Regions from separate parts of the Homo sapiens genome. Here regions 2 and 3 are each linked to region 1. The links are contacts of gene promoters, found by promoter capture Hi-C in human tissues and cell types (Jung and others, 2019). All regions are on one chromosome and are shown on one strand. The core of a region is centred on a gene start or on the middle of the fragment in contact, and the rest is flanking DNA. Distances in the headings are between cores, read along the strand shown.

Region 1 (3,291 bases), core at 441-2,940:
AATTATCTTAGAAGCGACACATTGAGCCTGGGCAGGGTGGCTCACGCCTGTAATCCCAGCACTTTGGGAGGCCAAGACGGGCGGATCATGAGGTCAGGAGTTCGAGACCAGCCCGGCCAACATGGCGAAACCCCGTCTCAACTAAAAATACAAAAATTAGCTGGGCATGGTGGCGGGCGCCTGTAGTCCCAGCTACTCGGAAGGCTGAGACAGGAGAATCGCTTGAACCCAGGAGGCAGGGGTTGCAGTGAGCTGAGATGGAGCCACTGCACTCCAGCCTGGACGACAGAGCAAGACTCCGTCTCGGGGGCGGGGGGGTGGGGGGAGTGACACTTTGAAGAGGTAAAGGAGTAGCCGTGTGACTATCAGAGGGAAGAGTTTCCAGGCAGACAGACCAGCAGTGCAAAGGTCCTGAGGCCACAGGGCTGCCACGCCGATGATGCATTAAAAAGGCCAATGTGACTGGAGCGTGGGAGAAGGGGGAGGGTGGTAGAAAGAGAGGTTAAAGAGCTAAAAAGGAGCCAGTTCCTGAAGGGCTTTGCAGGTCATGAGGGGCCTTTAACTTTCCCTTGGATGAAATGGAGTGCTAGTGTAGGATTTCCAGTAAAGGAACGACGTGCTCTGACTTAAATTTTAAAGGATCGCCTTGACTGCTGTGTAGAGAATCAGCTGCAGGGGGCCAAGGGTGGAAGCTGGGAGACCAGTAAAGAGACTATAATGGAAATCCCGGGGGGCGGGGGTGGATGGTGGCTGGAACCAGGGTGGTAGCTACGTGGTGGCTCGCCTCTGATTCCCCGTGTAAAAAATGGAGTTTAGGATCCCTGCCCTGTGTGCAGCCCACAGCCTCAAGCCCCCATGGGGATGGAATGCCGGAAACCTCTGGCCAGCGCACTAGCAGCCTGGAGAATACGGAAGATTGTGGCAGGATTGTGGGGCACATGGGCAGCTCCCTGCTCGTCCGGGCCCCTGGTGCCCACGAGAAAACCAAAACAGGTGCGTGCCCCGCGCCGCACGTCAGGAGGGCAAGACTCAGTGGAGGGAGGGGCTGTCCACTCGCTCTAGCTCCCCAGAGGCTGAACAGGGAGAACTGGGAAAAAGGACGCCTCCTCAGCGTCCTAGAACGAGTCCTCGGCACCTGGTATTGCATGCGCCCTAGTATGGGGCCGCTCCACTTGCGCAGGTGTTGGCAACATGCGGGGAGCGCCACGGCATGCCCCCAATGAGCCGACTCCCTCCCCCAACTCTGCCCCCTTTGTCTCGCTGGCCCCTACTCCTTCTGTCTGCCTGTCTGTCCCGTCCCAGGTTCAGCGCGCACGGCCCTGCCGGGGTCCCTCTGGCAGTTGCCGTAGCCGCGCGGCCCGACCCGGGGCTCCCAAGAGGAGAAAAAATCATGAATGAAATGGATGCGCTGCTCCCACTCCTCCGCCCTCCTTGTCCAAGCAACCTTGGCATGGGGGCGACGACTGCGGAGACTCCGCGCAGAGTTGCTCGGGAGAGGGAGGCACCTGAGATGAGGTCAGGGGTTAAGGGTCTGTGATCCGGCCCCCTTCGTGCCCCGGGAGCAGGCCGCTCTCCCGGTCCCCCGCCCCGCCAGCCCTGCGCAATTCCCGGCGAGCGGCGGAAGCCCGCCCGGGGGCGGGGCGGAGCCGGGGCTGGGGGGTGCCAAACCCACCCGGCGGCTGCGCCAGCGACTCTGCAGCTGAAGCGCATTTGGTGAGGCGGTCGGGCGAGGGAGCGCGCACGGAGCGCGGGACGGAGCGCCAGGCGGACGGACCGAAGGACGGAGGCACCGAAGGACGGACGCCCCCGCACACGCAGACGCACAGAGCTCGGCGCGGCCCCCGTCGCATACACACTGGCACAGACACAAGCAGGGACACACGCAGACACACGCACACTCGCGCGCGCATCCTCCCGCCAGCCTGCCCGCCTGCTCGCCGGCGCCCGGAGCCCGCTCTGGCCGGTAAGTGCGGCGCCTCCGTCTGCGCCTTTGTGTGCGGAGCCGGAAGGTGGAGGGCGCGGGTCCCTCCTTCGGGCGGCCCCGCAACTGACACCTTCTCCAGCCCTCCCGGCCGAGGAGCCGGCGCCCGCCCCCGCCACGCCCCCGTGGGGCTCTGGGCGCCCGCATGCTGGGGGAGGGGTCCCCCATGCAGAGGAGGGGGCTTGTCGCTTGGTAGCCGGGAGGGAGCGGCAGCCACTCCCCACGAAGCCCGTGCGCGGTTCCGGGGAGGAATCGGGATAGTGGTTTGGGGTCTGAGCCTCTGCGGCCGGCGGAGGCTGGTGCGCGGCTCTGGGCTGCATCGCCTCTCCGGAGCCTGAAGCCCCTGAGGGAGATTGGAAATCGCCGCTAGCCTTCTGGCCTCTAAAGCGCGGCTCCCAGCCTTCCCATTGCTTCGCCTCCACCGACCCTTTAGCTTTAGCCTCCCGCGTCCCACCCTCCCCTAGAATACAAGCTTAGCGCGCTCCCCTCCCCCAGCATGCTGCTTGTTTCTGGTTGAGGCCCAGGCTCCTGCAAAACCGGAGATTGCCCGGGTCAGAGCCTTGGGAGGCTTACCTTATCAAGGATCACAGGGCTTAGAAGATCAGGGCCAGACGAATCCTGGGAACTTATTCAACCTTCTCATTTTACAGATGGGGAAACTGAGGCCCAGTAAGGTGGCGGACCAAGGTCACCAGAGAGTTAGTGGTAAAGCTTTCATTAGAATCTAGGGTTCCTGGTTTTCATACTCATGCTCCCCTCCTACACAACTAGATCCCACCCACATTGAAGCCCCAGAACCCCAAAATTCACCTGAGTGTACCACGAAAGTGTGTAATTCCAGCCCTGCCCCACTTGGAGGGGCAGGTGCCATTCATTTTCTACCTTCCCTACCTATGGTACCAAAAAAAGGGGAGAGGGGGCTTTAATTTGCTTCCTTCAACCTCAAAGGAGAGCTCTCATAACACTCAAACACTCCGGGTTTGGGATTCGTTTGGGAGAATGAAGAAGCCCAGGACCTGAGATCAGATTCCCAGGCGTTAGTCCTGATCCACCCAGGACACACTGAGCCTGAGTGTCCTCAGTTGGACCAGGTGATGTGGCATCCCAGGATTCGTCCTCTTCTCCACTGTGTCCTGACTGCATGCCCTCCCAGTCACCCTTCCCTCCCGCTTGAGGGCCAGATCTTCTACTCCAACCAGGCCCCTGTAGTCATCCCTTTGCGGAGGTCCCCACCTCTTTCTCCTTGGGGCTCGTTAAGGGCAGCCTCTTGGTGCTGCTGACAAAGCTGCTGGGGAAGCTTGAGTTACAAT
Region 2 (3,291 bases), core at 240-2,739, 62 kb before region 1:
CCTTCTTTGTCCTTTCTTACTGTTGGTGATTTAAAGTCTGTTTTATCTGATACTAGAGTAGTTACCACTGTTGTTTTTTGTTTTTCATCTACATGGTAGACCTTTCTCAAACCCTTTACTTTGAGGATATGGGTGTCATTATGTGTGAGATGGCTCACTTGAAGACAGCAAATGAATGGGTCTTTTTTAATCTAACTTGCCACTCTGTTTCTTTAAAGTGGGACACTTAGACCATTGTTAATTTAAGACCTTTCTAACTTTTGAGGTAGTTGTTCAGCACTATAAATTTTCCTCTTAATGCTGCTTTTGCTGCATCCCAGAGATTTTGGTATGTTGTGTCTTTGTGTTCATTTATTTCAAATAATTTTTTGATATCTGCCTTAATTTCATTGTTTACCCAAAGGTCATTCAGGAGCAAGTTGTGGGCATTTCGATCATTTGCATACAAGTGTACTGGGGGCATTTAGACCATTTACATATAAGGTTAGTATTGATGTGTGATATTTTGATCTTGTCATTAAGTTGTTAGCTGGTTGCTTTGTAGTTTCTATTGCGTGGTTGCTTTACACAGTCTGTGGGCTATGTGCTTAAGCGCGTTTTTGGTGGTAACATGTATCATTTTTTTGTTTCCATATTTAGAACTCCCTTAAGGATCTCTTGTAAGGCTAGTCTAATGGCAAAAAAATTCCCCTAGCACTTGCCTATATGGAAATTATTTTCTTTCTCCCTTGCTTATGAAGCTTAGCTTGGTGGGATATGAAATTCTTGGTTGAAATTTCTTTTCTTTAAGAATGTTGAAAAAAGACCCCCAATCTCTCCTAGCTTATAATATTTCTGCTGAGAAGGCCACAGTTATCCTGATTGGGTTCCCTTTGCATGTGACCTGACCTTTTCTTTTTGCTGCCTTTAAGATTTTTTTCTTTGGCATTGATATTTGGACAATCTGGTGACTATATGCCTTGATGATGTTTGTTTTATATAGTATCTTGCAAGTGTTCTCTGGATTTCTTATATCTGGCTGTCTACCTCTCTAGCCAGATTAGGGAAATTTTCTTAAATTATTTTCTCAAATATTTTTCCAGGTTCTTTACTTTTTCTCCTTCTCTGTCAGGAAGGCCTATAATTTATAGGTTTGGTCACTTTCCATAATCTCACATTTCTTGAAGACTTTGTTCACTTTATAAAATTCTTTTTTCTTTATTTTTGTCTAACAGGTTAGTTGAAAAGAGCAGTCTTCAAGCTCTGAAATCCTTTTATCTGCTTAGTCTAGTCTATAGATAAAGCTTTCAATTATATTTTGAAAATCCTTAAGTGAGATTTTCAATTCCAGAAGTTCTGATTGATTTATTCTTAGGATGTTTATCTCTTCCTTCATTTTCTGGATTGCTTTAGAAGTATCTTTGTGTTGATTTTCAACCTTGTCTTGGATCTCACTGAGCTTCCCTGTGATCAATGCTTTGAATTCTTTATCTGTCATTTCTGAGTTTCCATTTTGGTTAGAGACCATTGCTAGAGATCTAGTGTGATCCTTTGGTAGTGTCACAGCATTCAGATTTTTCATGGTGCCAGAATTCTTATGCAGCCTCCTTCTTATCTGGGGTTGCTGGCATTTCTAATTTTGGTAATTATTTTGATTTTTTTCCGTCTTCATATGTAATATTATTGGGGTTTTTTTTTTTCTTTCCCTTTCCCTTTCCCTTTCCTCTCTCACTAGGGGATGGGACTGCAGAGAATGCTGAGTAGGATTTTTGGCTTTGCTTCTATAGCACTATGCACATCTGTTGGCAGGTTTTATATTAGGTTGTGCAGTTCAACCTACAAGCCAGTAGATGGCACTTACAGGTAAGAGATGGCTGTGGCCAACAATGCTAGGTATGTACTTGATTCTTTCTTACTGAGAGAAATTCCCTATCGCCTCACGCTGTGGGCTGCTTCCTAAAGTGCACAGTGGTTTGAGCTCCCTGTTCAGCCCCAGGAAGGCAGAGACTAAGATGGGTGGGAGCCGAGATGGATGGAGACCAAGATGGGCAGAGCCCAATCATGCAGTTCCACCTACGGGTCACCCAGTAGGAGACACACACACCAGCATCCAGTGGGCAGCCACCAAGTGCCCTGAGGTGTGCCTAGGTGTGGAGCTGGGAAACCTCCTTGGCCCCAAGTTCTCTGCATAGGGATGGGGGTGGCCTAAACTGCTAATCCAGAAGAGTAGGTGTCCCAGATGCCTGGAGGTCTACCTGGGCATAAAGTAGAGAGGGCCTCACTGTATCATAATCTATGTCCAGGAAGGGTGGGATAGCTCAGCCTGCTGAAACAGAAGAGCAAGTGCTCCAGATGCCTGGAGGTATACCTGGATGTGATGCAGTGAGGGCCTCCACGAACCAGGATCTCTGCACAGGAAGGGTGGGGCTGCTCAGGTTGCTAATCCAGATGAGCGGGTGCTCTGAATCCCTGGAGATCTACCTGGGCATGGAGCAAAGAGGGCCTTGCTGTACCTTGATCTATGCCCATGAAGGGTAGGGTAGCTCAGGCTGCTGGTCCAGGAAAATGGGTATTCTAAATACCTGGATTTCTGCCTGGATATTGGGCAGAGTGGGCCCTGCTACACCACAGTCTCAGGGGAGCAGGCTGGAGTACCCAGAAATGACACATGCAGACTGGTTCCAGATCACCAAGCTGGCGCTGGCCCTAGTCTCACCACCTAGGAGAAACTGCAGCTGTATCAGCTCTCTTGCCACCCCAGGCTTGTGATGGGGGAAAGCACAATTCTAGCACCTACTGCTGAGGCATTTTCCACAGTTCTGGCCATAGAGGCTCCTAACCTGCTCCAGAGTAAGGACTCCAATCTCTGGCCTGAGACTAAAATGCCTGTGTGGCCCCACTGCCAGATCGCTGAAGAATGGCCTTCAACATAGTACCTGGGTATTGTTGATGGTTATTCAGGGCCCAAGGGCTCTTCAGTTAGCAGGTGATGAATGGTGCCAGGACTAGGTTTTTCCCTTCAAGGCAATGGGTTTCCTCCTGGCCCCAGGGCATATCTAGAAAAATCACCCAGTAGCCAGGGCCTGGTAAGAGGGCCTGATGACTCTGACCAGTACCCTATCCTGCTGTTGGCTGAGCTGGTTTTCAAGATGCAAGACAAAGTCCTCCCCAGTCTTCCCTCTCCTCTCTTCAAGTGGAAGGAGGAGTTCTCTTTTGGAGCTATGGACCGTACAGCCTGGAGTTAGGGGAGGAGTGATACTAGCACTCCCTTTGCTGCCCTTGCTGGTGTCTCAGTAGGTCGCATGCTCCCCT
Region 3 (3,291 bases), core at 518-3,017, 39 kb before region 1:
ATCTAAATGCCCCCACTTAAAAGGAACAGAGTGGCAAGTTGGACAAAAAAAAAAAAAAGACCCATCTGTCTGTTGTCTTCAAGAAACCCATCTCACATGAAACAACATCCACAAATTCAAAGTAACAAGTTGGAGAAAGATCTATCACAAAAATGGAAAACAAAAAACAGGAGTCACTATTCTTATATCAATAAAACAGACTTTAATCCAACAACAGTAAAAAAGTGGGGGAATGGATACACAATGATAAAGGGTTCAATTCAACAAGAACACTTAACTATCCTAAATATATACATACCCAAAACTTGAGCACCCAGATTTACAAAATAAGTACTTCTAGACCTGCAAACAGATTTGGACAGCCATACAATAATACTGAGAAACTTCAACATCTCCCTGACAGCATTAGGCAGGTACTGAGGCAGAAAACTAACAAAGATATCTGGGACCTGAACTCAACACTTAACCAAATTAACCTAATAGACACCTGCAGAATACACCACCCATCAAACACAAAATATACATTTTTCTGTTTTGCACAATGAACATACTTCATGATCAATCACATGTAATACTTTTTTTATTATTTCAATAGATTTAGGGGGAACAGGTGGTGTTTGGTTACATGAATAAGTTTTTAATGGTGATTTATGAGATTTTGGTGCACCCATCACCTGAGCAGTGTACCCAATACCCAATGTGTAGTCTTTTGTCCCTCACCCGCTCCCACTTTCCCCGAAGTCCCTAAAGTCCGTTGCATCATTCTTATGCCTTTTGATCCTCATAGCTTAGCTCCCACTTATGAGTGAAAACATACAACGTTTCGTTTTCCATTCCTGAGTGTGTGTGTGTGTGTGTGTGTGTGTATTCCATACGTGTATATATATACTTATGTGTGTGTGTTTGTGTGTGTGTGTGTGTGTATATATATATATATATATTTATTTATAAAACATTTTCTTTATCCACTCATTGATTAATTGGCATTTGGGCTGGTTCTATACTTTTGCAATCACAAATTGTGCTGCTATAAACATGCATGCGCAAGTACCTTTTTCATATAATGACTTTAGTTCTTTAAGGAATCTCTACACTGTTTTCCATAGTGGTTGTACTAGTGTGCATTCCCACCATCAGTGTAAAAGTGTTCCTTTTTCACCGCATCCCTGTCAACATTTTTTTTTTAATTTTTTGATTATGGCCATTTTTGCAGGAGTAAGGTGTATCGCATTGAGGTTCTGATTTATGTGCAAAAAAATTTTTTAAATCATACTCTCAGACCACAGTGGAATAAAAACAGAAATCAACACCAAGAAGCTCTCTCAAAATCACAGAATTACATGAAATTAAACAACTTGCTCCTGAATGACTTTTTGGTAAACAGGAAAACTAAGGCAGAAACCAAAAAATTCTTCGAAATAAATGAAAACATCACACCACATATCAAAATCTCTAGGATGCAGCAAGAGCAGTGGTAAGAAGAAAGTTGACTGCACTTAGCACCTACCTCAAAAAGTTAGAAAGATCTCAAATTAATGCTCTAACATCACACCTAGAGGAACTGGAAAAACAAGAACAAATTAACACCAAAGCTAGTAGAAGAAATCAAATAACTAAAATCAGAGCAGAACATTTTGAGACCCAAAAATGTATACAAAAAAATTAATAAAAGCAAAACTTGGTTCTTTCAAAGGATAAACAAGATCAATAGACTGCTAGCTAGATTAATAAAGAAAAAAAGAGAGAACATCCAAATAAGCATAATCAATAACAAGAAAGATGACATTATGACCAATTCCACAGAAATACGAAAGATCCTCAGACACTATTATGAACACCTTCATGCAAACAAACTAGGAAATCTAGAGGAAAGGAATAAATTCCTGGAAACACAACCTCCCAAGATTGAATCAGGAAGAAACTGAATCCCTGAACACACCAATAATGAGCTTTAAATGAGCTAGTCCCAATCCTTCTGAATCTATTCCAATAAATTGAGCAAGAGGGACTCCTCCCAAACTCAACCTATGAGGCTAACATCATTCTGATACCAAAACCTGGCAGGGACACAACAAAAAAAGAAAAATTTTAGGCCACTATCCTTCATGAATATAGATGCAAAAGTCCTTAACAAAATACTAGCAAACCAAAGAGCTAATCCACCATAATCAAGTAGGCTTTATTCCTGGGATGCAAGGTGGGTTCAACATACACAAATTAATAAATATGATTCAGCACATAAGCAGAACTAAAAAAAAAAACACATGATTATCTCAATAGATGCAGAAAAGATTCTCACTGAAATTCAACATCTCTTCATGTTAAAATCCTCAACAACATACCAGGAAAGCCAAAAGAATCCACACAGACCCTTTGAAGGAAGAAAATTGTTCCTGCAGACCCCAGGAGACAGCCCAAAAACCATGCTGCTATCCATGGCTGAGAGACCTGAAGACAGTTCACATCACAGGACTCTGTGCAGACACCCCCTGATACCAGCCCAGAGCTGAGTATCTCCTCTGGGTGGATAGATCCAGAAAAGGAATAACAATCACTACAGTTCAGCTCTCAGGAAACCACATCCCTAGGAAAAGGGGGAGAGCACTACATCAAAGGAGCACTCCATGGGACAAAAGAATCTGAACACCAGCAATATCAGCCCTTGAGCCCCAGAGCTTCCCTTCATGGTAGTCTACCTAAATGAGAAGGAACAGAAAAATGATTCTGGTAATATGACAAAACAAGGTTCTTTAATACCCCCAAAAGATCACACTAGCTCAGTAGCAATGGATCCAAACCGAGAAGAAATCCCTGAATTGCCAGAAAAAGTATTCAGAAGGTTGATTATTAAGCTAATCAAGGGGGCACCAGAGGAAGGTTAAGTCCAACTTAATGAAATAAAAAAAATACAAGATATGAAGGGAAAAATCTTCAGTGAAATAGATAACATAAATAAAAAATAATCACAACTTCTGGAAATAAAGGACACACTTAGAGAAATGCAAAATGCACTGGAAAGTCTTGGCAATAGAATTGTACAAGCAGAAGAAAGACCTTCAGAGCTCAAAGACAAGATTTTTTAAATTAACCCAATCCAACAAAGACAAAGGAAAAAGAATTAAAAAAATGAATGAAGCCTCCAAGAAGGTTGGGATTATGTTAAACAACCAAACCTAAGAATAATTGGTGTTACTGAGGAAGAAGAGAAATCTAAAAGTTTGGAAAACATATTTGAGGGAATAATGGAGGAAAACTTCCCTTGCCTTGCTACAGATCTAGACATCCAAATAC

What was found. Contacts are between HindIII fragments. The study calls those that stand out against the background at their distance.
Region 2: a fragment that was not itself captured here is called in contact with the fragment with the promoter of PTPN5 in region 1 in 1 of the 25 tissues and cell types used here (pancreas).
Region 3: a contact is called between a fragment that was not itself captured here and the fragment with the promoter of PTPN5 in region 1, in 1 of the 25 tissues and cell types used here (bladder).

What each region holds. Positions count from the first base shown.
Region 1 is chr11:18,790,197-18,793,487 of GRCh38, reverse strand. It overlaps PTPN5 (protein tyrosine phosphatase non-receptor type 5), which reads left to right and starts at 1,690. Exons shown (of 15, transcript NM_006906.2): 1 at 1,690-1,963. The HindIII fragment of the contact is 10,569 bases long and covers 1-2,985 here.
Region 2 is chr11:18,852,057-18,855,347 of GRCh38, reverse strand. No RefSeq gene overlaps it. Among named protein-coding and RNA genes, the nearest start is that of PTPN5, 62 kb to the right of the region's middle. RefSeq lists enhancers at 1,716-1,765, 1,986-2,115. The HindIII fragment of the contact is 3,963 bases long and covers 1-3,291 here.
Region 3 is chr11:18,829,252-18,832,542 of GRCh38, reverse strand. No RefSeq gene overlaps it. Among named protein-coding and RNA genes, the nearest start is that of PTPN5, 39 kb to the right of the region's middle. The HindIII fragment of the contact is 5,292 bases long and covers 1-3,291 here.